Regions from separate parts of the Homo sapiens genome. Here all the other regions are linked to region 4. The links are contacts of gene promoters, found by promoter capture Hi-C in human tissues and cell types (Jung and others, 2019). All regions are on one chromosome and are shown on one strand. Each heading gives the region's core, a stretch centred on a gene start or on the middle of the fragment in contact. The rest is flanking DNA. Distances are from core to core; before and after follow the strand shown.

Region 1 (3,129 bases), core at 315-2,814, 970 kb after region 4:
CTCAGCTCACTGCAACCTCCGCCTCCTGGGTTCACGCCGTTCTCCTGCCTCAGCCTCCCTAGTAGCTGGGACTACAGGCGCCCGCCACCACGCCTGGCTAATTTTTTGTATTTTTAGTAGAGACAGGGTTTCACCATGTTAGGATGGTCTCGATCTCCTGACCTCGTGATCCGCCCGCCTCGGCCTCCCAAAGTGCTGGGATTACAGGCGTGAGCCACCGCGCCTGGCCAGAAGCTGGCTTCTTGCAGGGACAGCAGGGCCGCAAGGCTCTGTGACTCTAGGCCCCATCACACCCGGCCCTGTCCCACTTCCTCTTTCGGCCAGAACCCCAGAACTCCAGTCATTCATAGGCCGGGTCCTCCTCGGGGGAACCAGGCCTGCCCCCTAGGAATCAGGGTATCCACGCCTCCTCGGCCCGCTCTCGGAGCCTGGGCCTCAACACCTGCAGATTGGCTCCCGGGCCAGGACCTGTCGCTTGAACATCAGTGGCCGCCGCCGTCCAATCACAGACGTACAGGGGCGGGCTGGCGGGCCTGTTGGGCCAGCAGGAGGACGGCGCCGGGCCGAGGCCGCTGGACCCGCCGTTGGAACCACAGCTGGGTGAAGTCAGTGCTGCTAGGTCTTTGGAGCCAGACCGAAGGGAGGGTCGCGCGCCCCTGGGTGGGTAGCACCAGGCGGCGGCCGTCGGCCGGGCCTCCCGAAGCCTCCTCCAGCCGCTAATACCGCCCGCGCCTCCCTCCTAGTCCTAGACCTGGCATTGCCTGTCCCTCTTCTTCGTCTTCCAGACCCTCCTGACCCGCCATATTAGGTCCCGGCCCCGCCCTCCGTCTCATTGCCCATTGCCCACCCCACCCCACCGCCCCCTCCCCGGCCTACCGTCAGCTCATTGGCCCAGGCTCCCGCCTTCTTCGCCCAATGTTAGGCCTCACCTCCTCTAGGATCCACCCTCTCCCCGCCCACCCGCATAAGCCAGGCCCACCATTCCAACTCTTTCTCCTTTTTGGCTTGTAGGCCGCACCTACTCTGCATATGCCCCGCCCCTCACTCCAGGTGTCGCCCACTTAACTGAAGATCCAGGATCCCCTCCTTAAGGTTTGTCTGGGCTCGGAATTGCCTTTTTTTTTTTTCTTTTTTGAGACGGAGTTTCCCTGTTGTGACCCAGGCTGGAGTACAGTGGCGCGATCTCAGCTCACTGCAACCTCCACGTCCCGGGTTCAAGCGATTCTCCTGCCTCAGCCTCCCAAGTAGCTGGGACTACAGGCGCCCGCCACCACGCCCAGCTAATTTTTGTATTTTTAGTAGAGACGGGGTTTCACCACGTTGCCCAGGCTGGTCTCGAGCTCTTGATCTCAGGTGATCCGCCCGCCTCGGCCTACCAAAGTGCTGGGATTACAGGCGTGAGCCACCGCACCCGGCCCGGAATTGCCGCCTTTAGACCCTCACCCACCCGCTGCTGAGTCTTCCTGGGCCCCGCCCCGGCCCTAAGCCCCGCACAGGACCTGCTAGGCCCCGCCCATTTATTTCCCCCCTTTCCAACCTCTTCCTCCCCAGCCTCCGCACCCTACCCTTGTTTCCTGTCCCTGTCGCGCCCAGGTGTTTACCTGGCACTCAGGTGAGTGGTGCGCTCTGGCTGTTTTCTGTCGGAGCCGCCCGCCTCTTCCTTCAGCGCGTCCCACAAATCCCGACGGCACGGAGGGGCCCCAGGCCAAGGGCGATGGGCCCCTGAGCCCTGACACCGCTTCGCCGCTGCTGCAGGTGCCCCTGGCCGGCAGCGCCGCCGTGGTCCCGGAGCGCGGCGACATGCCGGAGCTGGTGGTGACCGCGCTGCTGGCGCCGTCGCGCCTGTCGCTGAAGCTGCTGCGCGCCTTCATGTGGAGCCTGGTGTTCTCGGTGGCGCTGGTGGCCGCGGCGGTCTACGGCTGCATAGCGCTCACGCACGTGCTGTGCCGGCCCCGGCGCGGCTGCTGCGGGCGCCGTCGGAGCGCGTCCCCCGCCTGCCTGAGCGACCCCTCGCTGGGTGAGCACGGTTTCCTGAACCTCAAGGTGATCGCACGGGGGCGCTATCGGGGCTGCGGGGTCGCGTGGGGTCGAGACGGTTCAAGCCTCGGGAGAGAGGGTTCCCCAGGCTTCAGGCTGTGCCCTCCCCCTAGAGCTCGGGCCTGCGTCTGCACTATGTCTCGGCTGGACGAGGTAACGGACCCCTCATGCTGTTTCTGCACGGCTTCCCTGAGAACTGGTACGTCTGGGGCCAGGGGCCTGAGGCCCACGGGACTCGGGGGCAGGTGGAGCTTGGGCTCCCAAGAGGCAGGGAGGAGGGCTGTATAGATCGGGACAAGCTGAACATAGATGGGGATAGGGGTACTGAGCCAGCATACCCAGGATCCCTAGGCCCTGAAGGGACAGGACAAAGGGGTATTGAGGTTGATTGAAGTTCCCTGGATTCAGGGTGTAGCTGGCTTCAGCCTCAGCCTCTGCCTCTGCCTGGGATTCCCCATCCTCCTTTTAGGGGAAGTTTAGAGCAGGAAGGAGGGTTTGCCAATGGTTGCTGATGTGCGTAGGGTGCAGGTGCAACCTGAGGGCCCTGACTCAGCCTCCCTCCCTCGCCCGCCTGGCAGGTTCTCCTGGCGTTACCAGCTCCGGGAGTTCCAGAGCCGCTTCCATGTTGTGGCTGTGGACTTGCGAGGCTATGGCCCCTCGGATGCACCTCGGGATGTGGACTGCTACACAATCGACCTGCTGCTGGTGGACATCAAAGATGTCATCCTAGGCCTGGGTGCAGACATACCCCCATCCTAGGCGTGGCCTCCCTCATCCTGCACACACGCATACCCCCGCTTTCTCCTTGCTGGAACCTACTTCCCCCATCCCTGCTTCAGTCCTACTGGGCACCTCACTTATGCGAGCTCCTTGAATTCCCACAGGTTACTCGAAGTGCATCCTTGTGGCCCATGACTGGGGTGCCCTCCTTGCCTGGCATTTCTCCATCTACTACCCATCCCTGGTCGAGCGGATGGTTGTGGTCAGTGGTGCCCCCATGTCGGTGTACCAAGGTGTGTGTGGGAGTCCGGGACACTGGGATGTACTTATGTGCAAGGGGGCAGGGACATGTGTCTGTGTTTTCAATTCTCT
Region 2 (3,218 bases), core at 156-2,655, 750 kb after region 4:
CAGCACCTGCTTCTCAATGAAGCATGGATTCCACCCCTGGCAACCTCCCAATCCCACAGTGAGAGCATCTTCCTAGGCCCTCCTCATGTCACGGAGGCCATGGGTCTGGGAGGCGGATAAAGGAAGGGGGTCAGGTGTGGAGATGGTTGGATACTGTGTATGAATGATTGGGTAAATGAGTCATTCAAATCATGGGTGAGTGGATGGGTGAGGGGTAGAGTGGGTGGAGCAAACGGCAGACGGATAGGTTAGCATTTGCTGGATGTTTGACCTGGTAGGTGAGTAGCTGGGTAGTTGGTTAACCAGGTTGGGTATGTCTGCCTAGAAAAGGCCTGGTTCATAGTAAGAAAAAATTTTTTTCAATGTTGTGATTATATATATCATATGTACATATGTTGAGGTCTCCTGAGACGCCTGAGAACTGGGCAGTGGAGAAACAATAATGAACTAGACAGGACTCCTGGCCTCATGGAACTTACATGTTAGTGGAGGGACCAAATCAACAGACAAACTGGTGGATGGATGTTTGGGGGGCTGGGCGGAAAGATGTGTGTGGGGATGGTTGGGTACTTGCTTGGTTGTATGGATAAATGAGTATTTACTTGGGTGCTGGATGAATGGGTGGGTAGATGGGAAGTGAATGGGTGGGTTGAGTGGGTGTTTGGGTGAATTAATAGGTGGTTGGAGGGGTGGGTGGATAGGTGATTAGTTCATTGGATAGGTAGATGAGTGATTGATAGATTGAGGAAGTGGATGAGATAGCTAGGTGGTTAGATATCTGGATACATGGTGGATAAGACAAGACAACAGGCCATGATGTGTGTCTGATGGGGTAGTCCTGGAAGCTGTGATCCTGGGAACTGGGTGGAGAAGGTGACTTAGGACTGAAGACCTAGGGCAACTCTAGGGACATGGAGGTGCTGAAGTCCAGTGTGGATGATTGGGAAGGAGGGAGTGAGCTTGTGGTTGGAAGGTAGCTGATGGGGGGCAGGGGACAAAAGGCTAAAAATTGGCTGGGTGGAGTCTTCAATGACCTATCAATGACCCATCAATGACCCATGGGGGAACTTCTCTGCACCCTCCCCACTCTTTTAGTGCTTTTAGCGAGCCTACCATTGGAAGTACCAGTGGGACGATAAGGAGCCATTGGGGTGTGGGACGACAAGGGTGTTGTCATGGTAACGGGGCCTCTCCCTGGACTCAGGCCGTGCGGGCCCTTTAAGGGTGACCCGCTTGGCCACTCCCAACATGGCGGCGCGCCCGCTGGCCGCCCCCCCCGGGGCGGCGAGGGGGGGGGGGGTGGGGTGGGGGGGGCGCCCCGGACCTCCCCATCATGGCGGCGCGGCGGGGCTGTCGCGCTGAGGTCACGGCGGCGCGCCGGGGGGGCGGGGCGGCGGGGGGAGCGATTTAAAGGGACAATGTCCCCCGAGCGGTGGAGGCGGCGGCGGCTGCGGAGGCCGCGGCACCGGCACCGGGAGCGGCAGCGGCGGTAGCGGCAGCGACGGCCGCACCAAGGAGGGGAGCTCCGAGCCCCGGCACCTGGCCGGCGGCGCCGCCTCCCCGGTGAGGCCCGGCCCGGCCTGGGGAGCCCGCGGGTGGGGCGGAGCCGTAGCGGGGCGGGGGAGGCCCCGGGCCGGGCCGGGCCAGGCGGGACCCCCCGGGGCGGGGGCGGGGGCGGGGCCTTCAGGGGCGGGGCCTGGCCGGGGGCGGGGCCGTGCAGGTGGGGGGAGGGGCGGGGGTCTTGGGGCAGGTGTCCCCCCTACCTCGGCGCGTCCCGCGGGGTCTCCTGCCCCGGGGTGCACGGGCGGAGGGCTCATCCCCCGGACCCTGGACCCCCGAGGAGTGGGCCCGCGCGGCGCAGCCCCCACCTCTGCGACCCCTGGGGGGCGTCCGGGTAGGAGCCCCCTCCCCACGCTGCCAAAGTGCTCCGAAGTTGCGGTCCCGCCCGTTCCCCGCGGGCAGTGCCCACCCAGTGGACAACCGCAGGTGCTTCCTCCGGGCCTGGGTAGGGACCCCCACCAAGACTGCCAGCCCACGGAGGAGCCCCCTGGGAATCCCCAGGCCCCCGAGGGCAGCGCCTGCAACCAGGCCTGGCGCCCCGGCCCCGCCCCGGTTGCCTGGGCCCGGCCTCCCCACCATCTCCCTGGGGAGGGCGCCTCATTCCTGCCCTTCACTTTCCGCCGTTACCTTGAAGGTATTTATAGGTAGAGAGGACAACCCCCGCTCCCCAGGGTCCTCATTTCTGGACCAGGAGCCCTATCGTTTTCTTTCGCCCGAGGACTAGAGCAATCTTGGTTGGGGGGTGGGGGGAATGGAGGAGCCCAAGCTGGGTATGCATGAGGGATAATGTTGGGGAGAAGCGAAAGGGTTAATGCTGGGGTCACTTGAGGCTGTGTGTGTGGAGGGGGGTGAAGGGGTTAATGCTGGAGAACCCTAAGGTCCTGTGTGGGGGAAGGGTTGGAGTGTGGGAAAAGTGCAGGGATCATTGGTATGGGACAACCCAATGGAGAAAAGTAAAGGGGTAATGATGGGAGACTCCTGACGGTGTATAGGATCAGAGTGTACAAGTGGCTGGGATTCTTGCCGAGGAAACGAAGGCATGGCAGTAGGATGTGCGTGTGCATGGATGTGAGGGCAGGACTGGGGAAAGTGCAGCTGTGTGTGAATGAAGGGAGGCGTCTGGAGAAATGGTAAGATTGATGGAAGAAGACCAGGTGGCTGAGTGTGCATGTGTCAATATGGGTAAACTGAGGCAGTGCAGGATCTGTATAAAGGGGAGGAGTTATTGATGGGGAGACGGAGGCATGCTGAGGGTAGGGGCCATTGGGATAGAAGGTGTGTGGAAAAGGTCTGAACACCATTAGCTCCCCTGGGCTGGGAGGTAAACTGAGGCAGTGAGCTGCAAAGTTGAGGACTGAGGTTTTGAGGGATGGGAAACTGAGGCAGATTCCCTTTCCTCCATCCCCTAAGCACTTCCTTCTCTCTATCCCCAGGCCCACAATGCCCCGCTGAGCCGGTGCAGCAGCTGAGTGGATCCAAGCAGAGAAAATCCGATGGAGGGGTCTCTGGCAGGCAGCCTGGCTGCACCAGATCGTCCCCAAGGCCCAGAGAGACTGCCTGGCCCGGCGCCAAGGGAGAACATCGAGGGTGGGGCCGAAGCTGCTGAGGGGGAAGGTGGCATCTTCCGGTCCACCCGTTACCTGCCTGTCACCAAGGAG
Region 3 (3,204 bases), core at 258-2,757, 780 kb after region 4:
CAGAAGACGTGTCCTGGGGCCCTGCCTTGGTTTGGAAGACAGGCAGGCATCCCTGAGGCTGATGGGGAGATGAACCCCGAAGCCAGAGTGCTTATCCGTCAGATCTCTGCTTCATGTTTGGAGTTTGCTCACTTAACACATCAGAAGTGGCTTTGTTCCGTATGGCAGCAAGTTCTGCAGAAGCCTCATTTGGGTGGGGGGAGTTTTATTAAAACAGTTTATCATGGAGAATTCCAACTATACAAAAGTAGAGCAAACAGTAAAATGGACTCTCATCTATCCATCACCAACCCATGACCAATGTCTTCAGCTGTCAGAGATTTATCTTATAGCTCCTTGCTTCCTCCTCCTCTCTCTACCTGTCTGAATTGTGTGAAGCACATCCTGGCCATAAGATCAGTTAACTTCTTAGTATTTCAGTATGTTTCTCTCAACGTTGTAAATGCCACTATTACACCTAAAGAAATCAACAATATCAAAAAGAAACAGCATACCTTAAAAAAAGTTTTAAAACACACGAAGCGTAGAAGTCGTAATTGCGCAGCTTAATGAGTTTTCACAAACACACGTGTTAAGTACTCTTCGGTGCAGCTCTGTCATCTCTAGAAATTATGAGTTGTCCCTGGCAGGGTTTCCATATGCCCAGGAAACAGACTGAGGACATGACTGGTGCCCGGCTGCACTATTGCAGGATCTCTCGAGCCCAGAGTGAATCAGGAGGGTTTTAGAAGCAAAGCTCCCATTTTAACACGTAACTGTCAAGGACCTTGAGCAAATCATGAGTTCCAAGCTTCAGTTTTAAGTGAGGATTAAAAGCTTTTTGCAGGTTTGAAGGAGCATTCGAATGACACACAATACAAACGGAATTATTACACATATAAGCATATGCCATATAAATATATTATCGTTTTGTTACGATTAATCACATTTATTCAGTGCACTGGCACCAGAATGATTTCTTTACACACACTTTGTCACGTAATGTTGAAACGTGTGTCCAGCATCTTGTTTGGTGCTGTTTTAATTTTCTCTTCTCAACATGGCTTTGCTATGCTTGTTTTGGAGCCGAAGGCCAGAGAATTTGAGAGACTTAGCTAGGTCCCCTACCCAGCACCTCGGTGGCGGAGTTGGCATCCCAGCCCTGCCCTGAGCCGTAGACCCGACTCCCTCTGGCGGGTCTCCAGGGTACGGGCGCTCCTCCAGCCCGACCATGCTTGGGCCTTGGGCCTTTCCGTAGTGCACAGCTCCGCCCCCTCAAATTCTATAGGACTCCGCCTCTCTGCCGGCTTCTGTAGGCCAATCACTGAGGCCTTAGAATAACAGAAGGCGGGGACAAGGCGGGGCTCTCACGAGATTGCCAGCAGCTTCCAGCCACTGATATGAGGAGGCATAGAGATAGACAGCGGTTCCTTCCAATAGACGTGAAGCCGAGGCCGGTATGAGCCAATGCGGTCGGGAGGCGGGGCTCGGGTGTGTGTGGAGGGGACCCTGTGGTTAGCAGCAGCTATCGCAGCGTCGGATGTTCAGAGCAGCAGAAGCCGGCGTCGTCGGATGTTGTGTTGCCCGCCACCATGAGCTACACAGGTGGGCCTGGCAGGGTGGGGTCGGGCTCTGCGTGGGGGATGGGACAGGGACGTGCGGATGCCGCACCAGGCTTGCCCGCACCTCCCCTGGGGCCCCGTCACTGCCTTCCCTGCGGTCACAAAATGGCGCCGCTGGCCCGTCGCCTCAGGGTCGCTGCCCTCACGCCTCGTTGCCTCAGCTCTCTGTGTCTGCAGCCGGCGTCCCGGCTCCCGGCCGCCTGATGTCTTGGCTTCTGTCGCCTGTGTCCGTGGGTCCGGGCCTCAGCGCACGAGGTCTCCGCCCCCACCACCTCCGTCCCTGGCCTGCGCTCCTGGACCTCGACGCCTTAGGTTTCCCTTTCTCAGGCCTTGGTCCTTGCGAGCAGGCAGCAGGCTCGGCTGCCGTCGCCATTGTCGCGTCCTCCCCCGCGCAGTTTCTCTGCAAAAACGCCGCAGCTCTACACCCCCATCCCGATCCCACCCACCACCCCCTTTTGTCTATTTCAGAACTGGGAAAGGCGCCAGGCCCTAGGGGGATAAGTAAATATTGGAAGGGTTTGGGCTGAGCGGGGAGCCTTGGGCCCCTAGGGGCTGAACTGCAAGGAATGACAAGGTTCCATGTTAATTCCCTCTGCGTCTGTCAAATGAACCGTGTCCGGTACAGACTGGGTATTGGGAATACAGACAAGAATTCCTCAAGCAGCTTAGAGGCGAGGATCTTAATAGGCAAATAAGCGAGTGTAGGATATATTTTAGGGTGGTCAGTACCGTGCGGGGGTCGCTCCACTACGTGGAGTGGTTGGAGCCTTCTGTAAAGAGGTGACATTTGAGCAGAGACCTAAATGGAGGGAGCGAATAAAGATATCTGGCCCAGGGAGCTTTTGCTGTAAAAGGCTTACGGGCAGGAACTGCCTGGCTTGTTAGAAGATCAGCCAGGGAGGCCAGTGGGAGGCCAATGGGATTTGAAAGGGAGAGTGGGTGACAGATCCGAGAGCCCCTCTCCGCCCCCCGCAATATGCTTGGGCGACTGTAAATCATCACTGGGTGAATTGCCAAGGCCTCCTGGGTTTGCCTTGGCAGTGACTGATGAGGCTTCTCGGCCAGGAGACTTACACTAGGCCTCCCTGTTTGGTGAGGGTATTATAGGCTTGAGCGTGTGTGGTTGCCAGGTAACCTGCATTCTACTTGGAATTTTGAGAACTGAGAATGCAACGTGAGTCTGTGGGGCTCCTTTGTAGACCACTTTATGTTGGCATAGGCAAGAAGGTAGTGCCAGTCCCCTCTACCCTGGCTGCCAGGTCAGGAGCTTTCCAAGAACCCCAGTTTTTCTAGCAACCATCCCCCAGCCCAGTGGGTTCTCATCCAGGGGTGATTCTGCCCCAGATGACATCTGGCAATGTCTGGAGACATTTTTGGTTGTCACATATGGGAGTGGGAGTGCTGCTGGTATCTAGTGGATGGAGGTTTGGGATGCTGCCCTGCTACGGTATACACAATGACACCTACCGCAAAGAAGTATCTGGCGTCAAACATCAGTAGTGCCCAAGTTGGGCAGCTCTGCCAGAGCCTTTCTGTAGCTTTCCTAGTTCAGGAGGAAAGACTATGGGGTTGTTACTGACATCCCTGGGATTGGAATATAATT
Region 4 (3,201 bases), core at 144-2,643:
TCCAGCTCCCTGGTGTCTCTGGTCCATTTGTCACCCCTCCTCAGGGAAACCCTCTCTCATCCTCGGGCTGAGGCTGACTGTCTGTATAACACACTCGCCCCTCAACACCACTGCAATTGACATTTATTTGTGTTTTTGGAGATGGGTATCCATCTCCCCTACCAGCCTGTGAACACCGTAAGAACACAGATTGTTGAGCCCTGGCACATGACTCACACCTGTAATCCCAGCACTTTGGGAGGCTAAGACAGGTGGATCACTCGAGGTCAAGAGTTCGAGACCAGCCTGGTCAACATGGTGAAACCCTGCCTCTACTAAAAATACAAAATTTAGCTCGGCGTAGTGGCAGGTGCCTGTAATCCCAGCTACTTGGGAGGCTGAGGCAGGAAAATTGCTTGAACCCGGGAGGCGGAGGTTGCAGTGAGTGGAGATTGCACCACTACACTCCAGACTGGACGACTGAGCATGACACTATCTCAAAAACAAAACAAAAAAAAAGGGACTGTTTTTTGCTAAACACAAATCGACCCCAGGCTTAGTACCCTGCCCGGCATTAGTAGGTGCTCCCCAGATATCAGCTGAATAAACGAATGATTCTGGATCGGACTCCTAGACTTGCTACTTCTCTGTGACCATTGTGACCTTGGTCAGGTTGCTTCACCTCTCCATGCCTCAGTTTCTCCCTCTATAAAACGGCACTCGTGATCACCACTCACCTCACCTAATCCTTGTAACTCACTATCACAATGAACGTGGAGAAATTCCTACTGAGAGAAAGTGCACGATAAACAGAAGCTGTAACGCCCTGAGAAGGCGGGACTGGCTCGAGAGCACCCAGTCCCCGCCACGCCTCGCCACCCCCGGCCAAGGGTCGCGCAGCCCCTGGACGCCCTGCCTGGCTCCGAGGCCGGCTGCGGCCCCGCTTCTGGGTCCTCCACCGAGGCCCGAGCCCCCGGCCCCGGCGCCGGGGAGCAGAGGGCGGTGCAGTCAGTTACCTGGCAACGCGGTGGCTGCAGCCCACCGCGTTACGTAGCAACAGGGCGGGGATTACCCACTTAAGACCCCCGCCCGGTTACCCAGAAACAGGATGGGGCTCTCAGGTGAGGTCTACCGGCCTCTCTGCCTCACACCAGGATGGGGCTCATAAGCCGGTTACCTAGCAACAGGGTGGGTCCCCGCGGGCGGAGGCCCCTGCCGGTTGCCTGGCAACAGGGAGGGTGGGGAGCCCTCAGTACCTTGCCCTTCAGGTCCAGCACGTAGACGGCGCTGGCGGACATGATGGCTGCAGGAGGCCTCGGCAGCGGCCGAGGGCGGTGGCGGCGGCAGCGACGGTGGGGACTGCTGGGCGTTGAGCAAGGCCGGGCGCCGCCCGCGACAGCTCACCTCCACTTCCGGTTCGGGGAGCCGCGCGGGGACCGTTATGTCCGGTCCGGGAGGTGCTGTCAGGAATGCGCAGGCGCAGGACGGACTGTGCGCAGGCGCATTACGTCGTATGTAACCATGTTTCTTGCTCCCGCCAGAAGCATCCCGGAAGTAAGGCCCGGTGGGGCGGGGCCGACCAAATCAGGGCACCCAGTGGCCGCTGCCAGGCTGAGCTATGGAGCCAGAGCAGCTGGAAACGGCCTCCCGTGGGCCGAGTTAGGCGAGAGAGCCTGGTGGTGAAACCGACCTGGGGCCCAGCCCTATGGAGCTCACAGTCTGGTGGGGAAGTCTATGAAACAAGTGTACAGTCACCAATTGTGATAAGCTCAAAAGAGAGAGGTAAGGTCGTGGTTACTTGGAAAGAGGTCAAACAAACTTTCTGAATGGCAATCAAACCTTATCAACAGTCACCACCTGTCATTGTCAACATTTATCAATGAATGAGTGTGCCTGTTTATTGCCTGGAATGTTATGAAAACCAGCCTCACTGAACCTTGACCCAACATACCGTGTTTCATTTCTGCAAAGTTAGTAATCAGTAATGCAACTGGTGGCCCTTGATTAATCCATTGAGTCATATTTAATTTGCTTTTATGAACTCTTGGGCTTTGGAGAAATGCCTGCATTCTGTTCCAGTTAGCCATCATAGTACCCTGGGGATCCCAACCCTGCAATACCAGAGTGATTTACCCAGGATGCCTGCCTCTCACATCTTTTATTTTCTGTCTTATCTCCGTTTTGGCGTTTGGAAAGATGATTTTTGCAACTCGGTAATTATATAGTGTTTTGCTTAGGAAAGAAATGTGACCGAAACTCTAGAGAAGCAAACTAGAATGTTTGAAGACTGCTAAGTGACTCCTGGGCTGGAAGGATTCTTGCTCAAGGCACAGAGCAAGCAGCCAAGAGAGGGTTTTTGTTGTTTGCTTTTTTTTTTTTTTTTTTTTTTGAGATGGAGTCTCACTCTGTCACCCAGGCTGGAGTGCAATGGCATGATCTCGGCTCACTGCAACCTCTGCCTCCTGGGTTCAAGTGATTCTCTTGTGTGTCAGCCTCTCAAGTGGCTGGGATTACAGGCATGTGCCACCACACCTAGCTAATTTTTGTATTTTTAGTAGAGACGTGGTTTCACCATGTTGGCCAGGCTTGTCTCAAACTCCTGACCTCACGTGATCCACCCACCTCGGCCTCCCAAAGTGCTGGGATTACAAGGGTTAAGTTAAATATTAAAAGATAAGAGAGCCAGTGCCCTTATACAAAGGCTGGGATGTAACAAAAGCCCACCCAGAGTTGTGCCTAGGCCTTTCCTGGGCCTTGAAGCATGACAAGATAATGAAGGAATTCTTAACAGGACCCTTTTAGGATTAAACAAGCTTTATTGGCGGTCTGAAGAAACTCCTCAGGCCTCCACAAACAAGTTTATTGGGGTTTGAAGGAACTCCCCCAAACCTCCATGATTTAGCAGGAGATAAGATAAGGGTAATCACCCCAGCACCTGGACCCACTTAGATTAAGTAAATTTACTGAGGCTCCAGAGGAAGGTCTTCAGGACTCAGATCTTAGTTATGGGTTAAAAGACTATAACTTACTTACGTCTTTAGATGAATGCACACCTACACGTAGACATATAGCTTAGAAGGTATATGAGCTCTGGAAGACTTTGTAATTTTGGGTTGGTCTGGTGATATTTTCCAGGCCTTCTCCCTGTAACCAGTTACAGAAATAAAAACTCTCTTCCTCCCTAGTTCATCTGTGTCTCATTATTGGGCTGTGAGATATAGA
Region 5 (3,188 bases), core at 496-2,995, 820 kb after region 4:
CACCAAAAATATCCTTCTTTTACCTTATGGTTTTTATAATGATCAAAGTGAGATTTGCCTGTACTCCCACCATGAGATGGCCCAGCATATTGATGGAAATCCTTCCAGACAAAATGGCTCTGGCATGCTCTGCAGACAGTACTATATTATACACCTTTCTTATGCCAGTGCAGAGATGAGCCCGATTTGAAGGGCTGCATGATGTTCTTTTGAATGTACGATTTATTTAACCTCTTCTGCACTGAGGAACGTTTAGGTGTTTTCCCATTTTTCACCACTACAATCAGTGTGCACGCATGTTTCCAGTTCTTAAATTTAGGATACGTTCTGGGAAGGGATTAATGAGACAGATTTTTACTTTTCATACATTGTGTCAAACTGCTTTCCAAAAAATACGGAAACAGTTGATCCTCCCACCAGCAGAGAAGACTCTCTTCACCCTTGCATGACTGGGAATAATTCTTCATTCTTGGAATTCTGTGGGTTAAAAAAGACGTTTCATTAAATATCTGTTCCTGTTTTTATATCTTCCCCGTTGGCCCCAAAGTGCTCCTTGCCTATTAGCCTAGTTGGCACCTTGTTACAGGTTGCACCCACCTTTGGCTCTTAGTTTCTTAATTGTTCACTGCTTATAGCTTTTTTGTAAGCAAATCAGATTTCTGTAATACAGCCGTAAAGTTAGAGATATATAGATCTGTATTTTTATTTACCTACAGTAAGTGTGGTGTGGAAGGAGAGGGAATTTGAACAAAGATCAGATAGGTTGTGGTTCCATGCTTGTGGAGTGGCCCTCCGTTGGTGGGGCTGGAAGTGCGTGGGTGCAGGGGCGGGGTGGGGTCCCTCTAAGCTGGCAGGGTCGGGGCAGCAACTTGTAGGGCACTCAGAGCAGCCTCTCCAGCTCCTTCTGCCCTGCCCGCAGCTCATGATGGAGCAGTCCAAGAAGTCCTCCCTCATGGTGGCCCGCAGTATTCTCAACAACAAGCTCATCAGCAAGAAGCTGGAGCGCTACCTGAAGGTGAGGCACTGGTCCGGGCCTGCCCTGTCCCCAGCTTAGTCCCCGCCTGTGCTCCCTCCCTTCAGTGTCCGCGCCCCTCCCCACAGGGCGAGAACCCTTTCACCGACAGCCCCGAGGAGGAGAAGGAGCAGGAGGAGGCTGAGGGCGGTGCCCTGGACGAGGGGGCGCAGGGCGAAGCGGCAGGGATCTCGGAGGGCGCAGAGGGCGTGCCGGCGCAGCCTCCCGTGCCCCCAGAGCCAGCCCCCGGGGCCGTGTCGCCGCCACCGCCGCCGCCCCCAGAGGAGGAGGAGGAGGGCGCCGTGCCCTTGCTGGGAGGGGCGCTGCAACGCCAGATCCGCGGCATCCCGGGCCTCGACGTGGAGGACGACGAGGAGGGCGGCGGGGGCGCCCCGTGACCCGAGCTCGGGGCGGGCGGAGCCCGCGTGGCCGAAGCTGGAAACCAAACCTAATAAAGTTTTCCCATCCCACCTCCGGGTTTCTCTGTTACTGTGCCGCGCGGGCGGGGCGGGGTGGGCAGAGGGGCGGGGTGCGCATGCGCGCGGGCCGGGCCGTCGGGCACCGCGGTGGGACCACAACTCCCATTAGGCCACGGAGCTGGATCGTAGCAGCCCGAAAGGCCAGCTGGGACGGCGAGGGCGGGCCCTCGTGAAGACCAGCCAATGGGGGCGCGCGGAAGTAGTGACGTGTGCGCCTGGTCTTCCAGTAGTCGATGGCGGAGGTGCGCTGAACGCATGCGTGCTGTGGTCGCCTAGTAAACGGGGCTGCTGGTGGGCCGCGTCGAAGACATGGACCAGGGCTACGGAGGTTTGTGTTGGCTGCTGGGTGCGGAGCGGGGAGGGAAGGCTCTGTGCGGGCGACGCAGCCGCTGCGCAGACTGCCGCCGGCCGGGCCTTCGTCCCGAGCGTGGTTGCCCCAGCTGGGCCCTCCGGAGAGGCGGCCAGGGCGCGCGCGCGCCGCTCATTGGGCTTTGGCGCCGTCGCTCCCGGGGCTCTGCGTGCGGATTGGCCGCCAGGCCCCGAGGAGGCGGGCGGGACTCGGGGTTGGGGCAGACGCCGCGGTGGGCTTCGTGGGGGCGTCTTAGACAGTGTGGGCCGTTTTTGCCCCTCACCTTCGGCGGAGTCCTTCCGGCCCCCAGCGACCCCGGGGTTTGCACTCCCGGCTTCCTCTTCCGAAGACGCCACAAAATGGCGGCGCTAGGGGGGCGGAGCTACAGCGTGGGGTTGTGAGGTCGGACCCGGGGAGCTGGGTCTGGGGCCGCGGGCGGACCGCGGGGGCCGCCTCTCTCCCGACCTGCCCTAGGCCCGCGGGGCCGTGTAGGGTCTCCGCTGGGCTCACGTGGCCCAGGGCGCCTGTCCCGGAAGCCGTCGGGCTGCGCGGGGTCGGGCCTTTAGTCCCCGGTGCAGCGCGGTGGGGCCGAGTGCTGCCGGCGCGAGAGTCAGCCTCGCCGGGCTCCAGCTCTGTACCCGGCGCGTGCTGGCTTGGGACAGGATGGTGAGGGGCAGATGCTGAGTGTTCGTATAAAGCTGGAAACCTGATGTGCCCTGGGGCTGGTGACATTGGCAGTTCTCCTTTAGGCAGTCTGTTGTGGTGGCCTGGAGGGGCCGAGGGGCTGTGCAGGAGGGAACGTGTCCTTTCCCCACTAGGATTTAGCGCTTGGCCTGCAGTAGGGCCGATCTTCTCGAGCTGCCTGCTCCCTGCTTCTGGAATCAGAGCCTTTTGGGAGCAAAGTTTGCCCACAGGGGATAGTTGGGACATGCTGGGTGGAGCTCGACTGGTTGTAGAGAAGCTAGTGGTCTGATCCTGGCTGCAGGAGCTCGAGAAGTTGTCGATCTTGAGAAGTGGCAGGGCAAAAGTATCCCAGCACCAGAAATTGCAGAGAGAGGTTTCGGTCCTGAGGCGGCAGCGTGCGCGGTGTGCTTTGGTGTCTTCCGGGTCCTAGCGAAGGCTCAGCCTGGCTCTCCTGGTCTTCCGCAGCCTGGGTAGATTTCACCATTCTTTCCCTTCTTTCCCATCAGATCTTTTCTGCAGGTATTGTATTCCTTCTTTTCATTCTTAGTTTGGAGAGGTTTTTTTTACCCCCTCTTCCTACCTGCCGAAAACCTTTCAGACACACTGGAGATAGTTAAGCTTCCCTGATTTCTTGTGTTTCCGGGAGCGTTTTAAGGTTAATAGT
Region 6 (2,902 bases), core at 193-2,692, 560 kb after region 4:
AGAAGCTTCTGCACCAGGCTCTGTGCTAGTGCATCCTGTGCACCCTCCCACTTCACCTGTGGACACACCCATCAATCCTGCCATTTGCAATGAGCAGATTGAGACCACGTTCCGCAAAGGGGAGAGCAGGTCTAAGTCAGAGGGCAAGGTCTGGGGGAGGAGAAAGGTCAGGGAAGGCTTCTGAAAGGGGAAGTGAGTGGCCAACTTTTATGTGGGTTTGGCAACAGGACCCCATTGGGACATCTTACTGGGGAGGAACAAGATAAGAGGAAGGTGCCTCCGGATGTGGTGGAGGTGAGAGACAGCCCACACCTCTCCTCTGGCCCACCTATACCCTCATAAGAGGAAATAGGCCAGGTAGGGAGAGGACCCTGAACAGTGGGTACAGGAGGCCTCGAGTCCAGCAATGGAGAATGTGGGAACGCCAGGGGTTCACCTTTCTGTGCACCCAACCCCCTGCCCAAGAGCCCCGCAGAGGTGCATTAATGTGGAAAGACAGGCAGGAAAAGGATTCAACACAGGCCAAGAGTGGGAGAACAGGGAGGTGAGAAGGGCTTGGGTTGGCACCTCACAGAAATGAGTAAGCAGAGGAATGAGTAAGACGCCTCCCCTGCTTCTCTGCCACCCCAGACCCCAGCCCACCCCCTCTCACCTGAGCCTCATTCTTACCCCTCAGGAAGTCCATCCACCCTGAGACCCCAGACCCGTCCTGCTGCCACACTCACCAGGCCCAGGTGACCCAAGAACCAATTCCGTTTCGGGGGTTGCGGGAAACACCGGAGGCGGCAGCAGTTGTCATAGAAGGTATAGGTCCAGGCCAGGATGCGGGCCAGGAGCCAGGAGGCCCCAACCAGCAGCAGGAGCAGCCACGGGGATGCTGCCATTGGCCAAAGGCCCAGCGAGGACAGGCTCAGCTGTGGCATCCTGCAGGGCAGATGGGGTGGTGAGTGAGGTCCTGAGGCCCAGGGAAGGGCCCAGGGAGCTCCAGGGACAGTGGAGAGAGGCAGAGACGGGCAGTGCTGGAGATAGAACAGTAAGAGTAAACAGGGATGGATAAACAGGGGCTGAGGGGTAAAGTCCAGAAAGGCCCAGCCAAAACCAGCAACCAAGTGGCCTCCAGTTACCCGGTAAGCACTTAGATTGAGAAAGACAGAGAAACTGATTAAAGTCCAGAAAGGCCCAGCCTGAATCATTAGGACGTTGCCAGGGGCTTGGTTTCAGTTAGAAAACCACTCATCCTCCAAGCCAGCAACCAGGAGCTGCCTGGGCCTTGGGCAGCAATGGAGAATGTGGGAAGGCTGGGGCTCCCCTATGTGTGCGCCCAATCCCTTGCCCAGTGCCCATCTCCATCACAGGCTAGGATGCCCCAGGCCCACCACCCCCACCCTGGCACCTTCTGTCAGGAGCACCTTGTCCCACACAACCTCCTCTCCCCTTCTTCTGGGAGGTTTTTTCCCCTGGCCCCTGATGTAGGGAAGGCTGTGGGAGGCTAGGCTGGGCTGGGCTGGGCCAGCCAATCCCCACAGCCTGGGTGCCGCTCCCATGTCTGGGCAGCTGGCCAAAACCTGGGTGTGGGAGACCAGCTGGATGCAGAGGAACCAGCTCAGGGTGACACAGCACAGGCACTGGATCCTCAGGTCTCAGCACCTCCCACATAAGGTGGAGAGTAAGCCGAGAGGGGTCAGATAGAGTTTCCACTGTGTGACACCTGCTCTTAAAGAGCACCTACTGAGTGTGTGGCAGATAAAAGCATGAACTTGAGAGTTCAGGTGTCAAGCGAGCCAGGCCAGGCCAAGCCTTGTTCCAGATCATCTCCTGTGCTCCTCTCTAACCCTGGGCCGGTAGGACACCGTGTACCACTTCTGGATGCTGAATCAGGCAACCTGGAAGAGACAAGCCTCTATCCCCCTGCTGCTGGATGGAGTTCAAGTCTTGCCTCCAGGCAGTCCAGGGCCCTGTTGGAGACCTGACTGCTAGGAACGGGAACAAAGAATCCAGCCCCACTGAGGATTACCTGGGTCAGATTCTGGAGATTAAGAGCTCAGCTGGAAAAGCAAATCTGGAGGCCGGACTCAGTATAGGAGGACAGAGCGGGGACGTGGAGGGTTAGGATGAGAGGGAACGGATGGGGTCCAGGCAGGGGAAGGGCAGAGCCAGGGAACCATGAATGGAGTCCTCATTCTGCCTCATCCTTGCTCTGACTTTGGTCAGTACTGCCCCTCCTGGGTGCAGTCTTCCCATCTGGGAAATGGGATGTTCGATGAGGGCCTTAGCGGGGGACAATGAGGGCTCCTAAGAGGAGGGAGCCCCAAAAAGGAGTGAAGGGAAAGGGTGGCAACTAGCACTTGAGCTGCTGTGTGCCAGTCTCTACTCTGCACAAAGGCTGCATGGAAAGTACTTCTACTGTGTGCCAATACTCTAAATGAAGGGCAGCTACTGTGTGCCAGGTGCTAAATCCTGTCTACTCTGTGCCAAGTGCTTTCCATAAAGTGTGCCTACTGTGTGCCAGGTGCTCTACATTAACCCTGTATACTCAGTTCCTGATATTCCTCATAGAGTGCCTACTGTGTGCCACCTGCTCTACATAGTGAGTGCCTATTGAGTGCCACCCCCTGTATATGAAGAGTGCCCACTGAGCACCAGTTGCTGTCTACATAACACATGCCTACTGAGTGCCAAGTGCTCTACATAAACAGTGCCTACTGATACCACCTGCTCTATATGGTGACTTCCTACTGAGTGTTTCCTGATCTACATAAAGAGGGTCTATTGAGTGCTGCCTGCTCGAGTGTTGCCTGTGCTCCATAAAGTGTACCTACTGTGGGCTGCCTTCTGTACATAAAGGGTGCCTACTGAGTGCTGCTTGCTCTACATGAAGAGTTCCTACTCTTGCCTGCGCTAC

What was found. The method cuts DNA at HindIII sites, captures the fragments that hold promoters and counts their contacts. A contact is called where the count stands out against the background at its distance.
Region 1: the fragment with the promoter of EPHX3 here is called in contact with the fragment with the promoter of AP1M1 in region 4 in 5 of the 25 tissues and cell types used here (H1 embryonic stem cells, dorsolateral prefrontal cortex, heart left ventricle and 2 more).
Region 2: the fragment with the promoter of WIZ here is called in contact with the fragment with the promoter of AP1M1 in region 4 in 1 of the 25 tissues and cell types used here (dorsolateral prefrontal cortex).
Region 3: a contact is called between the fragment with the promoter of AKAP8L here and the fragment with the promoter of AP1M1 in region 4, in 5 of the 25 tissues and cell types used here (H1 embryonic stem cells, dorsolateral prefrontal cortex, lymphoblastoid cells and 2 more).
Region 5: a contact is called between the fragment with the promoter of AKAP8 here and the fragment with the promoter of AP1M1 in region 4, in 4 of the 25 tissues and cell types used here (dorsolateral prefrontal cortex, mesenchymal stem cells, mesendoderm cells and 1 more).
Region 6: a contact is called between the fragment with the promoter of CYP4F3 here and the fragment with the promoter of AP1M1 in region 4, in 5 of the 25 tissues and cell types used here (liver, lymphoblastoid cells, mesendoderm cells and 2 more).

The regions. Positions count from the first base shown.
Region 1 is chr19:15,230,883-15,234,011 of GRCh38, reverse strand. It overlaps EPHX3 (epoxide hydrolase 3), which reads left to right and starts at 1,564. Exons shown (of 7, transcript NM_024794.3): 1 at 1,564-2,043; 2 at 2,151-2,236; 3 at 2,616-2,773; 4 at 2,922-3,050. The coding sequence starts at 1,801. RefSeq lists a silencer at 815-974 and an enhancer at 1,313-1,814. The HindIII fragment of the contact is 16,546 bases long and covers 1-3,129 here.
Region 2 is chr19:15,448,143-15,451,360 of GRCh38, reverse strand. WIZ (WIZ zinc finger) reads left to right here and starts at 1,405. Exons shown (of 13, transcript NM_001371589.1): 1 at 1,405-1,563; 2 at 2,994-3,218. The coding sequence starts at 3,054. MIR1470 (microRNA 1470) reads right to left here and starts at 1,813; the gene lies at 1,753-1,813. RefSeq lists silencers at 1,381-1,510, 1,561-1,680, 2,031-2,140. The HindIII fragment of the contact is 11,591 bases long and covers 1-3,218 here.
Region 3 is chr19:15,417,291-15,420,494 of GRCh38, reverse strand. AKAP8L (A-kinase anchoring protein 8 like) reads left to right here and starts at 1,507. Exons shown (of 14, transcript NM_014371.4): 1 at 1,507-1,584. The coding sequence starts at 1,572. It overlaps WIZ (WIZ zinc finger), which reads left to right. Exons shown (of 13, transcript NM_001371589.1): 13 at 1-517. The HindIII fragment of the contact is 22,741 bases long and covers 1-3,204 here.
Region 4 is chr19:16,196,103-16,199,303 of GRCh38, reverse strand. AP1M1 (adaptor related protein complex 1 subunit mu 1) reads right to left here and starts at 1,393. Exons shown (of 12, transcript NM_032493.4): 1 at 1,236-1,393. The coding sequence starts at 1,277. RefSeq lists a silencer at 1,010-1,249. The HindIII fragment of the contact is 7,648 bases long and covers 1-3,201 here.
Region 5 is chr19:15,378,344-15,381,531 of GRCh38, reverse strand. AKAP8 (A-kinase anchoring protein 8) reads left to right here and starts at 1,745. Exons shown (of 14, transcript NM_005858.4): 1 at 1,745-1,819. The coding sequence starts at 1,801. AKAP8L (A-kinase anchoring protein 8 like) reads left to right here. Exons shown (of 14, transcript NM_014371.4): 13 at 920-1,015; 14 at 1,102-1,482. The coding sequence ends at 1,410. RefSeq lists silencers at 1,120-1,609, 1,950-2,499 and enhancers at 774-1,688, 1,460-1,754, 1,689-2,604. The HindIII fragment of the contact is 19,214 bases long and covers 1-3,188 here.
Region 6 is chr19:15,639,437-15,642,338 of GRCh38, reverse strand. CYP4F3 (cytochrome P450 family 4 subfamily F member 3) reads right to left here and starts at 1,442. Exons shown (of 13, transcript NM_000896.3): 1 at 1,394-1,442; 2 at 726-924. The coding sequence starts at 923. The HindIII fragment of the contact is 9,363 bases long and covers 1-2,902 here.